Regions from separate parts of the Homo sapiens genome. Here region 2 is linked to region 1. The links are contacts of gene promoters, found by promoter capture Hi-C in human tissues and cell types (Jung and others, 2019). All regions are on one chromosome and are shown on one strand. Each heading gives the region's core, a stretch centred on a gene start or on the middle of the fragment in contact. The rest is flanking DNA. Distances are from core to core; before and after follow the strand shown. Region 1 holds the start of WDR31 (WD repeat domain 31). Region 2 overlaps SLC31A1 (solute carrier family 31 member 1).

Region 1 (4,715 bases), core at 1,097-3,596:
CTCACACCTGTAATCCCAGCACTTTGGGAGGCTGAGGCGGGCGGATCATGAGGTCAGGAGTTCGAGACCAGCCTGACCAACATGGTGAAACCCCGTCTCTACTAAAAATACGAGAATCAGCCGGGATGTGGGGGCACGCACCTGTAATCCCAGCTACTTAGGAGGCTGAGGCAGGAGAATCGCTTGAACCAAGGAGGCGGAGGTTGCAGTGAGCCGAGATCGCACCACTGCACTCCAGCATGGGCAACAGTCACTCACATGGCTGGCATTTGGTGCTAGCTATTGGATGGGCCATGTCTCTGAAACAGACTAGCCTGGTCCTCTTCCCATGCTGGCAGTGTGCCAAGAGGATGGGAGCAGAAACTGCAAGGCCTTTTGAAGCTTAAACTCAGAAGTCCCACGATGTCACTCCTGCTGCATTCTATTGGTCAAAACAAGTTACAAAGCCAGCCTTGATGGGAAGAGCTACAAAGAAGTTGTGGTCGTTTTTAATCTATCACACCCTGATGTTGGCCTGAATCCAGCTGGTAGGTAGAGAGAAGGTTTTTATTTTTATAATGTTTGGGAGGCAGAATTGAGAAGTCTCGGGGATTGTTCTTGAACGAGGAAGCAAGGGTAAAGTTACAAATGACTCCTAGATCCTTGGCTTGGGTGATTGGTGAATGGTAGTGCCCAGCACTTACAGGGAAAAGAGGGGGAACAGGTTTGAGGGGAAGATGATGTTTCCAGTATGAGTCATGTCAAGAATGAGGTGTCTTTTAAACTGCCAGTTGCAGATGGGCGGGTGGCAGGTGGATATACAGGTCCGACTCAGGGAGAGGCCTGGCTACAGGTACCAGTTTGGGAGTCTTTCGTGCCTGAAGCCTAAAGCCTCTCTCTCAGAGGGAAAAACATCCCCAGAGCAGGAACATCTTGGGTGCAGAGATCTAGTAACTCACCTCTGTAGCTGCACTGAGCCTAGCCCAGTGTCCCAGGACAAAGCAGTGAGTCTATCCTGGTTGTAGCTTGCCAGGCTGTTGTGGGGGAAAGGGATTAAGTCTGTAAGGAGAGCCATTGGTTCTGAGCGAAGATCAGAGTTTCAAGTGGCATACGGGTAGATACTTTCTCCTGCCAGAAGGAAATCTCCCAACAATAGGTCACTAGCTTAGAAAGTAATCAGCCCATCATTACAGAGTGAGCATCAACTAGGGCTACAGATACTTCATCAGGGATGCCATGGAGGGGATCCCTTCCCTGGACTGGAAAACAGACCCAATAGCCAGTATGTGGAGGCAAACTTCTCTCACCATTCCCACCCCCTCAAAGGCACCCAATTTTCAGAAACTCCACAAATCTTCATTGAAGGCTGTTTTGCCAGATCAACACTGCAGAGGCACCTACTAGGGTTCAAAATAAATGTTGGGGCCGGGCGCGGAGGCTCATGCCTGTAATCCCAGCACTTTTGGAGGCTGTGGCAGGTGGATCACCTGAGATCAGGAGTTCGAGACCAGCCTGGCCAACATGATGAAACCCCATCTCTACTAAAAATACAAGAATTAGCCGGGCATGGAGGCGCGCACTTGTAGTCCCAGCTACTTGGGAGGCTGAGGCAGGAGAATCGCTTGAACCTGGGAGGCAGAGGTTGCAGTGAGCCGAGATCGCGCGACTGCACTTCAGCCTGGACGACAGAGCAAGACTCCGTCTTAAAAATAAATAAATGTTGGCTAGGATCCCTGCCATTGATTCATTCAACAAACATTCAACAAGCCCCTACTATATACCAAGCCCCATACTGTGCACCAGGAATACGGAGATGAATAGACTCTAGTCTGGTAGCAATGCGACCGCAGCTGTAAAAACTGTGTTTCTACAACTGTCTTCCCATTTGGATCTCAAGAAGGTACTGAGGGGTCTCTTCTTGCTATGGTACTAGGCTGTAATGGTTCAATGAAAAAAAAAAAACGAAAGGAATAGAGGAGTGGGGAGCTGGGGGAGTGTCCAAAGGAGGAATTTCTAGTCGAAATCAGGGAAACTCCAAAGAAATACGGCAACACGTATGTCTGAGCGACCAATAATTTAAAAGATGACCTTTATTAAGTGCTTTCTCCATAGCTATTACAAAGGTACCCGTTTTGCTTGGATTGTCTAGATTCTTCTGGCAGCGGAGTCCTGGGCACAAGCGTCCTCTCCTCTGGACCTGATCACGAAGAGAGTAGCGCCGGGCGCTCAGTTCCCGTCCCAGCTTTAGGCGAACGGAACTGCGGTTCGGCGGCCTGCGAGGGTGCCCGGAGGCTTTTCTCCAGCACTCCCGCCCTAGCAACGTGCGCCTGCTGCTAGGGGCGGAGGCGCGGGAGGGCTCGGAGGCTGTTCCCACCCCCAGGCTCCGCGTTCCCGCCGGCCCCAGCTCCAGCCCCGCAGCCCACCGGTGGGTACTGAGCCTGAGGTGGGAGAAAGGGGCATAGCGGCAGACTAGGAGCGGGCAACCCTCGCCCTTTGGTCGAAGCGGAGAGCGGTTATGAGGGCCAACCTTGGGCTGGGTGGCGCTAGGTTCCCATCTTCGGGGACTCTTCTCCCCGCTTTCCACATACACATAAAAAATAAGCTTTAGGCCGGGCGCGGTGGCTCACGCCTGGAATCCTAGCACTGTGGGAGGCCGAGGCGGGTGGATTGCCTGAGCTCAGGAGTTCGAGACCATCCTGGGCAACACAGTGAAACCCTGTCTCTACTAAAATACAAAAAATTAGCCGGGAGTGGTGCCGTGCGCCTGTAGCTACTTGGGAAGCTGAAGCAGGAGAACTGCTAGAACCCGGGAGGCGGAGGTTGCAGTGAGCCGAGATCGCGCCACTGCACTCCAGCCTGGGTGACAGAGCGAGACTCGAGACTCCGTCTCTTGAAAACAAAAACAAAAACAAATTAAGCTTTAGTTGTTCATATAATGGGCAGGGAGAGGAGCATTTGCCATCTGAAGCGACAGAAAGGAAAAACTGCACACAAGTCGTCCCCAAAATTTGAGGCAACCGTGAGAGTGGTGGCCTAGAACTGGCTCCCTGTGTGACTCTAGGCAAGACCCTCTTATTCCCTGGGCCTCGGTTTCCCCTATCTGTACCATTAGAGGGTCGAACCAGACCAGCTTCCAGGTGTTTCTACTCATACTTTTCTTTCTTTGAGCATTGTTTTGGCGACTAAAGATGCCTTGGTCTCCCAGAGTGTAAGACAGAAGTGTGCAGAGGGAGATTTGGGGAGACGGAGGGAGATAAGATATCAGCATTTGCATTAACGGGACCAGGGAAATAAGGTCCAGTCCACCCGGCTCTGCCCCTGTGACCTTCAGCAAGTCACAGCCCTCTGAGTCCCAGTTTCTTCATGGAATAGAACAGTCGGATAGGTACTGGTGTATATCAAGGAATATTGCACTGGAGAGTTAAAAGAGAATTCTCTGCTTTCTGTTTAGGGTGGTTTAGAGTGACTACTGGATATCCCAAGGCCTTTGGAAAGCAGATTGGAATAGAAAGAAGTGATGGGATTCAGACCGAGGCCTGGTTCCAACTGGAACCAACAGGGACATCCAGAGCCATAACTGAATCTGTAGATTTTCCCATGTCCTCTCCAGCCTTTCTGGGTCTGGAGCCTGGGATGAAACAGGGTGACTGCTCTCTAAGGGATATGTTGTTGGGCAGGTTAAAAGGGCGCTTATGTTGTTGGGTCCCTAAAAAGTGTACCACTGGGCCGGGCACGGTGGCTCACACCTGTAATCCCAGCATTTTGGGAGGCCAAGGTGGGCGGATCAACTGAGATCGGGAGTTCGAGACCAGCCTGACTAATATGGAGAAATCCTGTCTCTACTAAAAACACAAAATTAGCTGGGCGTGGTGGCAGGCGCCTGTAATCCCAGCTACTCAGGAAGCTGAGGCTGGAGAATCGCTTGAACCTGGGAGGTGGAGGTTGTGATGAGCTGAGATGGTGCCATTGCACTCCAGCCTGGGCAACAAGAGAGAAACTCCATCTCAGAAAAAAAAAAAAAAAATAGCGTACCACCAAGCCGACTCTTCATCTTAGTATTCCATTCACTCATTCAACAGGTATTTATTTGCCTTGCGTTCATTCTCCTAGGCTAAGGTCAAATCATAGATACAAAAATGAACCAGAAATTATACCTCCTCTCAAGTATATTACATGTTCCTAATAAAAATAGTGGAAGATAACTTAGTAGTACTTTTATTTCTTATTCTACTCATGATAAATTACAACAACGTAGATATAACCCAAATTCATATACTTTGTTCTTGAGACTTTTTAATTGCCTTGCTATGTAACATAATGAATTCTTAGCTTTATTGGGTCCAATCACTCTGATCAGAGGCCATAATTTGCTTCAGCTTTAATATCCTCTAGATTCATATATCCGTTTGTATGTGTTCTCTGTGTATATTTGTGCATTAATATTTGTGCATTATGAACAGTATTAACAAGGGTGAAAATGCTGCTTCCAGTATGATCACTGTTAATCTTGCAATCATGCTAGTAACCATAATTTATTGTTAACAACTTGCCAGATTGAACCAAAAGCTTTATATGCACCAGCTTTTGTAGAGATGCAGTATAATATGCTGGTCAAGAACAGGGCCTCTGGAGTTGGACTGCCTGGATTCAAGTTTCAGCTCTGCCACTTATTTGCAGTATAAACTTGAGCAAACTATTTGATATCTCTGTGCCTCACTTTTCACATCTGCAAAATG
Region 2 (4,715 bases), core at 886-3,385, 110 kb after region 1:
TCCTCAAAAAATCAAGAAAAGTAGCCAGGCGTGGAGATGCATGCCTGTAGTCTCAGCTATAGGCTGAGGCCATAGGATCTACTTTTGTACTACTTTGGTAGGCTGAGGCAGGAGGATAGCCTGAGCCAGGGAGGTTGAGGCTGCAGTGAGCTGAGATCGCGCCACCGCACTCCAGCCTGGGCGACAGACCAAGACTCTGTCTCTCAAACAAACGAACAAACAAACAAATCCCCAAAAGATTAGTAATTGTTATGGTATCATACACTTTGTAAAGTTATCACACACCTCATAACCATCCAAAAATTTGGGAAGACAGTAAAACACAGACAGAGGCAGATATTTGTTAGGCTCTCTTTGTTTCATCTTTCCATCTTCACTCCCTACATAAATTGTAATAAAGAGCAAATCTTCTGAATCCTCTACTTGGTAAATGCTAGTAAACATAGTTGGGAGACAGTCTCCTTTTGTTCTGAGTTTATAATATTCACCTTGCAAATAGCTTGAATAGTATTATACTGAAAAGCAATAGAAAAATCTACAAGACCATGATGCAGGTGACTTTAGTGAAGTCTGCAATTCAACATAATTTTGGAGAGATTACCTATTCTTGGCTCTTACTTAAGACTTAGTTCTGAATAGTAAGAGATAAAAATTAAGATATTACCAAGAAAATGATACTTTTTCTTTTCCACTAATCATTTTCAGTTAAAGTCTCATAGAAGATCAAAACTAGAACAGTCATCAGTCTGCCCACATTCTTTAACACAGTAATCCCACTTCTAAATATTCATTCTACAGATAAACTGGCACATATGTGAAATGTGTATGTACAAAGTTACTTATAACAGGAGTGTTTGTAATAGCAAAATATTAAAAATACAACCTAAATGTTCATTGATAGGGCACTGATTAAATGAGTTATCATATTTTCATACAATGGAATACTTAGCAGAATAAGAATGAGAACGATCATATATATTGATATAGAATGATCTGTAAGACGTATTATGAAATGAAATAAAAGCAGAATATACTGTATGCTATAATTTGTAAAAAACTTAAAAAGGAAACAGAGTATGTTCATGTTATTTTTATACACCTATACTATCTGCAGGGGAGTTGGGGGGAAACAACAAAGTTGTTGGTTGAGCCTGGGAGGCAAAATAGGACCGTGGTCCCTAAGGAGAGCTGGTCAGAAGTGGGTAGGAGTAAATGAAATACTTTTCACTGAATATCCTTGTGTACTTTTTGAATTACAAACCATATGAATATATTTCCTATTTAAAAAATTAAATTATCAGTCAGGCGCAGTGGATCACGCCTATAATCCCAGCACTTTGGGAGGCCATGGCGGGCGGATCACCTGAGGTCAGGAGTTCAAGACCAGCCTGACCAACATGGAGAAACGCCATCTCTACTAAAAATATAAAATCAGCCGGTCGTGGTGGCACATGCCTGTAATCCCAGATACTAGGGAGGCTAAGGCAGGAGAATCACTTGAACCCAGGAGGCAGAGGTTGCAATGAGCCGAGATCACACTATTGCACTTCAGCCTGGGCAACAAGAGCGAAACTCCAACTCAAAAGAAAAAAAAAAGTATCATCAAATCCAACTCCTTTATTTTACAGATGTGGAAACTGAGGCTTATGTTATTAAATGATGACACTAACATTCTTTAGTTAGGTGAATCCATAACATCTGCTTCTGATAGAAGGCTCCATAACACTAGACTAACCGCTTTCTCCAGCCCCATTTCTCCGGATGGCTTGCTGGGAAGCAGCTAAGCAGGATGGGTTTCTGAGCTTTACATATCCTGTTCTGGTGGCAAATAACATAGAAGCTCCTATTTCTCTTGCCCACTCCCACCCTTCTGTACAAAGAAGATCAAGTGTACAACTACATTCTTCCAAAGGCCTTTACAAAAGCTTTTATTTGCCTGGTTCTAATAGGACAACTCAAATTTGATATGTCAAACAAACAAACTGAAAAGGTCTTTTAGTTATGTAATGATAACAGGGCCTAAGTCCAATGGGGAGTGGATCTCCCAGCTACTTTACTCCATTTCTGTGATACCTTTTGTTGTTGGGTAAGCCACATCCTGGAATAATGTAATCACATGATGCACCCTTTCATGCTCCTCTTACAGGATCCTTTTGTAGCCTTGACGCACTTCCAGTCCGCTAACTGTGCTTTAGTATGATTTATGTGACAATTTCAGTGTTTTCTAGATAGTATCTTAGAGTGGAGAAAGCATGCAGCACGAGGCATCAAAGGCTCTGAGCTCTGGACCCACATTTGCCATATACTAGCCATGTGACATTAGGCAAATCACCAAAATTTGCAAAATTTGCAAAACAGATATTAAAATACCTACGCTGCCAATCTCATAGTATTGTAAGGGTCAAATAAAATATGTTAAATACTTTCCAATTTTAAGGTACAGTAAATATGAAATATAATAGCTTGCTTGCTCATTAGATGACAAAATTAATCTCTGAAAGGAACTAAGTCACACATAAGGCTCACTTTCATGTTTCTTGAAGTATACAGCCTTTCACAGTTTGATTTAAACAAAACTAGCTAGTCAGACAAATATACATTGGCAAAGCATTGCTTTAACTGCTTTATTGTTATAATCAAATGTAGACAATGGTCCTCCTTGTCTAAACTTTGCTTTAGTTATATTACATAGCATTTAAACTGTTTGGATAATAATGTTGTTGGTTTGCCTATGAGTAATATTGGAAATTAATATGGCATAAGACAGAAACTAGAAAACATTTGAACTGTTCCCTTTTTTTTATTCAGTAGGAAAATGCAATTAAATATGTTACACAAGATAAAAGGAACTTGAATGATTTAATGAAAATGCAGTACAAGAATGCAAATGAGGCTGGACATGGTGGCTCATGCCTGTAATCCCAGCACTCTAAGAGGCCAAGGTGGGCAGACTGCTTAAGCTCAGGAGTTTGAGACCAGCCTGGGCAACATGGCAAAGCCCCGACTCTATCAAAAATACAAAAAATTAGCTGGGCGTGGTGGTGCATGCCTGTAGTCCCGGCTACTCGAAAGGCTGAGATGGGAAGATTGCTTGAGCCTGGGAGACAGAGGTTGCAGTGAGCTGAGATTGTGCTCCTGCACTCCAGCCTGGGCAACAAAGCAAGATCCTGTTTCAAGAAAAAATAAAAGAAAAAAGAAAAAAATTGTTCAATATCTCAGATAGAGGCTGTATGGTGTGGCAGTAAAAGTACTGGGCTAGGAACTGAAAGAGGTTCTACATCTGCATTCTAGATCTGGCTCTTAGGTCTCATTTGCTATGCAATTTCAAGGAACTCAGACTATTCTTTCACTATTTATTGCATACCTATCGAATGAAGGTACCATGATGAAACTCTAACCATAAGAAACCCATTCTGGTGAAAGAGGGACACATGTAAATAATTTAAAAATAATGTAAAATGTACTAAGGTATAGATTATGCATAGGGGTTGTGTGAGAACTCATAAAAAGCCATCAGAAAAGGTAGGAGAGAGGATGCGGGTGTATGAGTTACACCATTTCCCTTTCATTTCATAAATTAAATGACTACATTCTAGATGCTGTAAACTGCTTCAAAATTATATAAACACTCATCATAGTTCTACAATAACTCTTCTATCTAGGGAAATATGTCACCTGTTGCTAGAATTTTGCTCTCTTTATATGTTCCCTCCAAATCATTTCTCATATTTACTTTTGAGATTCAGGCTTCCATCTTACCATGCTGTATTTCATAATGTCCTAAGCCTACAAAAGCAGGTTGTATACAAAAGCCTAGGGCCATTGTGTAAAGGAAAAGAGGTAGGGTGGACCCTTCTCAACCCTTTCCTTCTCTGCAGGGCTTTGCATTCCTAAGGATGGGCCCCTCCTCTGCTTGGGGATGTTACCTAAATCATAAAATGATATTACTCAAAGCAATGGAACTTCAAAAGCATTTCCTTCCCAGGCCCTACTATAAGATTTCTTTTGGCATAAACTGTTCATTGTAATGTATTAAGTATCAGACTTTTGATGACTTGTTATACTTAAGTCACAAAACTACAGAAAACTTTTAAGTTTTTAAAATGGATTTAAGAGCTGCATGTGGGAGTACAGGCATCAGGAACCCCCTACCCCTTCCCTCCCTTTTCCCCAGTCAGGCCTGCCCTGTCCACTTTAAAATGCAGTTATTTGGGTGATGCCCTGTTACTAACTTAACTGACAACTGCTAGTTGAAATCAACTTGTCACTGTAAACACTTTGCTTTCTTTATTTCTTTTTTTTTTTTTTTGAGATGGAGTCTCACTCTGTCGCCCAGGTTGGCGCACAGTGGCGTGACCTCAGCTCACTGCAACCTCCGCCTCTCCGGAGCTCAAGCAATTCTCGTGCCTCCGTCTCCTGAGTAGCTGGGACTACAGGTGCCCGCCACCATGCCTGACTAATTTTTGTATTTTCAGCAGACACGGGGTTTCACCATGTTGGCCAGGCTGGTCTCGAACTCCTGACCTCAGGTGATCTGCCTGAGCTGGGATTACAGGCGGGAGCCACCACACCTGGCCGAACACTTTGCTTTTCTAGTGATTATTATATCATCTTTCTCTCTTGTAGCACTTCTGGTGGGAAAGGTGCAAAAAGGAATTAACAGTAGAGATGAGTCTCTGATTCCTAAGTCCTTCTCTACCAAGACTTCCAAGTTG

Evidence for each region. The method cuts DNA at HindIII sites, captures the fragments that hold promoters and counts their contacts. A contact is called where the count stands out against the background at its distance.
Region 2: a fragment that was not itself captured here is called in contact with the fragment with the promoter of WDR31 in region 1 in 2 of the 25 tissues and cell types used here (bladder and pancreas).

What each region holds. Positions count from the first base shown.
Region 1 is chr9:113,337,906-113,342,620 of GRCh38, reverse strand. It overlaps WDR31 (WD repeat domain 31), which reads left to right and starts at 2,346. Exons shown (of 11, transcript NM_001012361.4): 1 at 2,346-2,404. RefSeq lists a silencer at 2,337-2,576. The HindIII fragment of the contact is 4,545 bases long and covers 1-2,739 here.
Region 2 is chr9:113,225,730-113,230,444 of GRCh38, reverse strand. All of the region lies in intron 1 of SLC31A1 (solute carrier family 31 member 1), which reads right to left. Among named protein-coding and RNA genes, the nearest start is that of SLC31A1, 6.5 kb to the right of the region's middle. The HindIII fragment of the contact is 3,999 bases long and covers 136-4,134 here.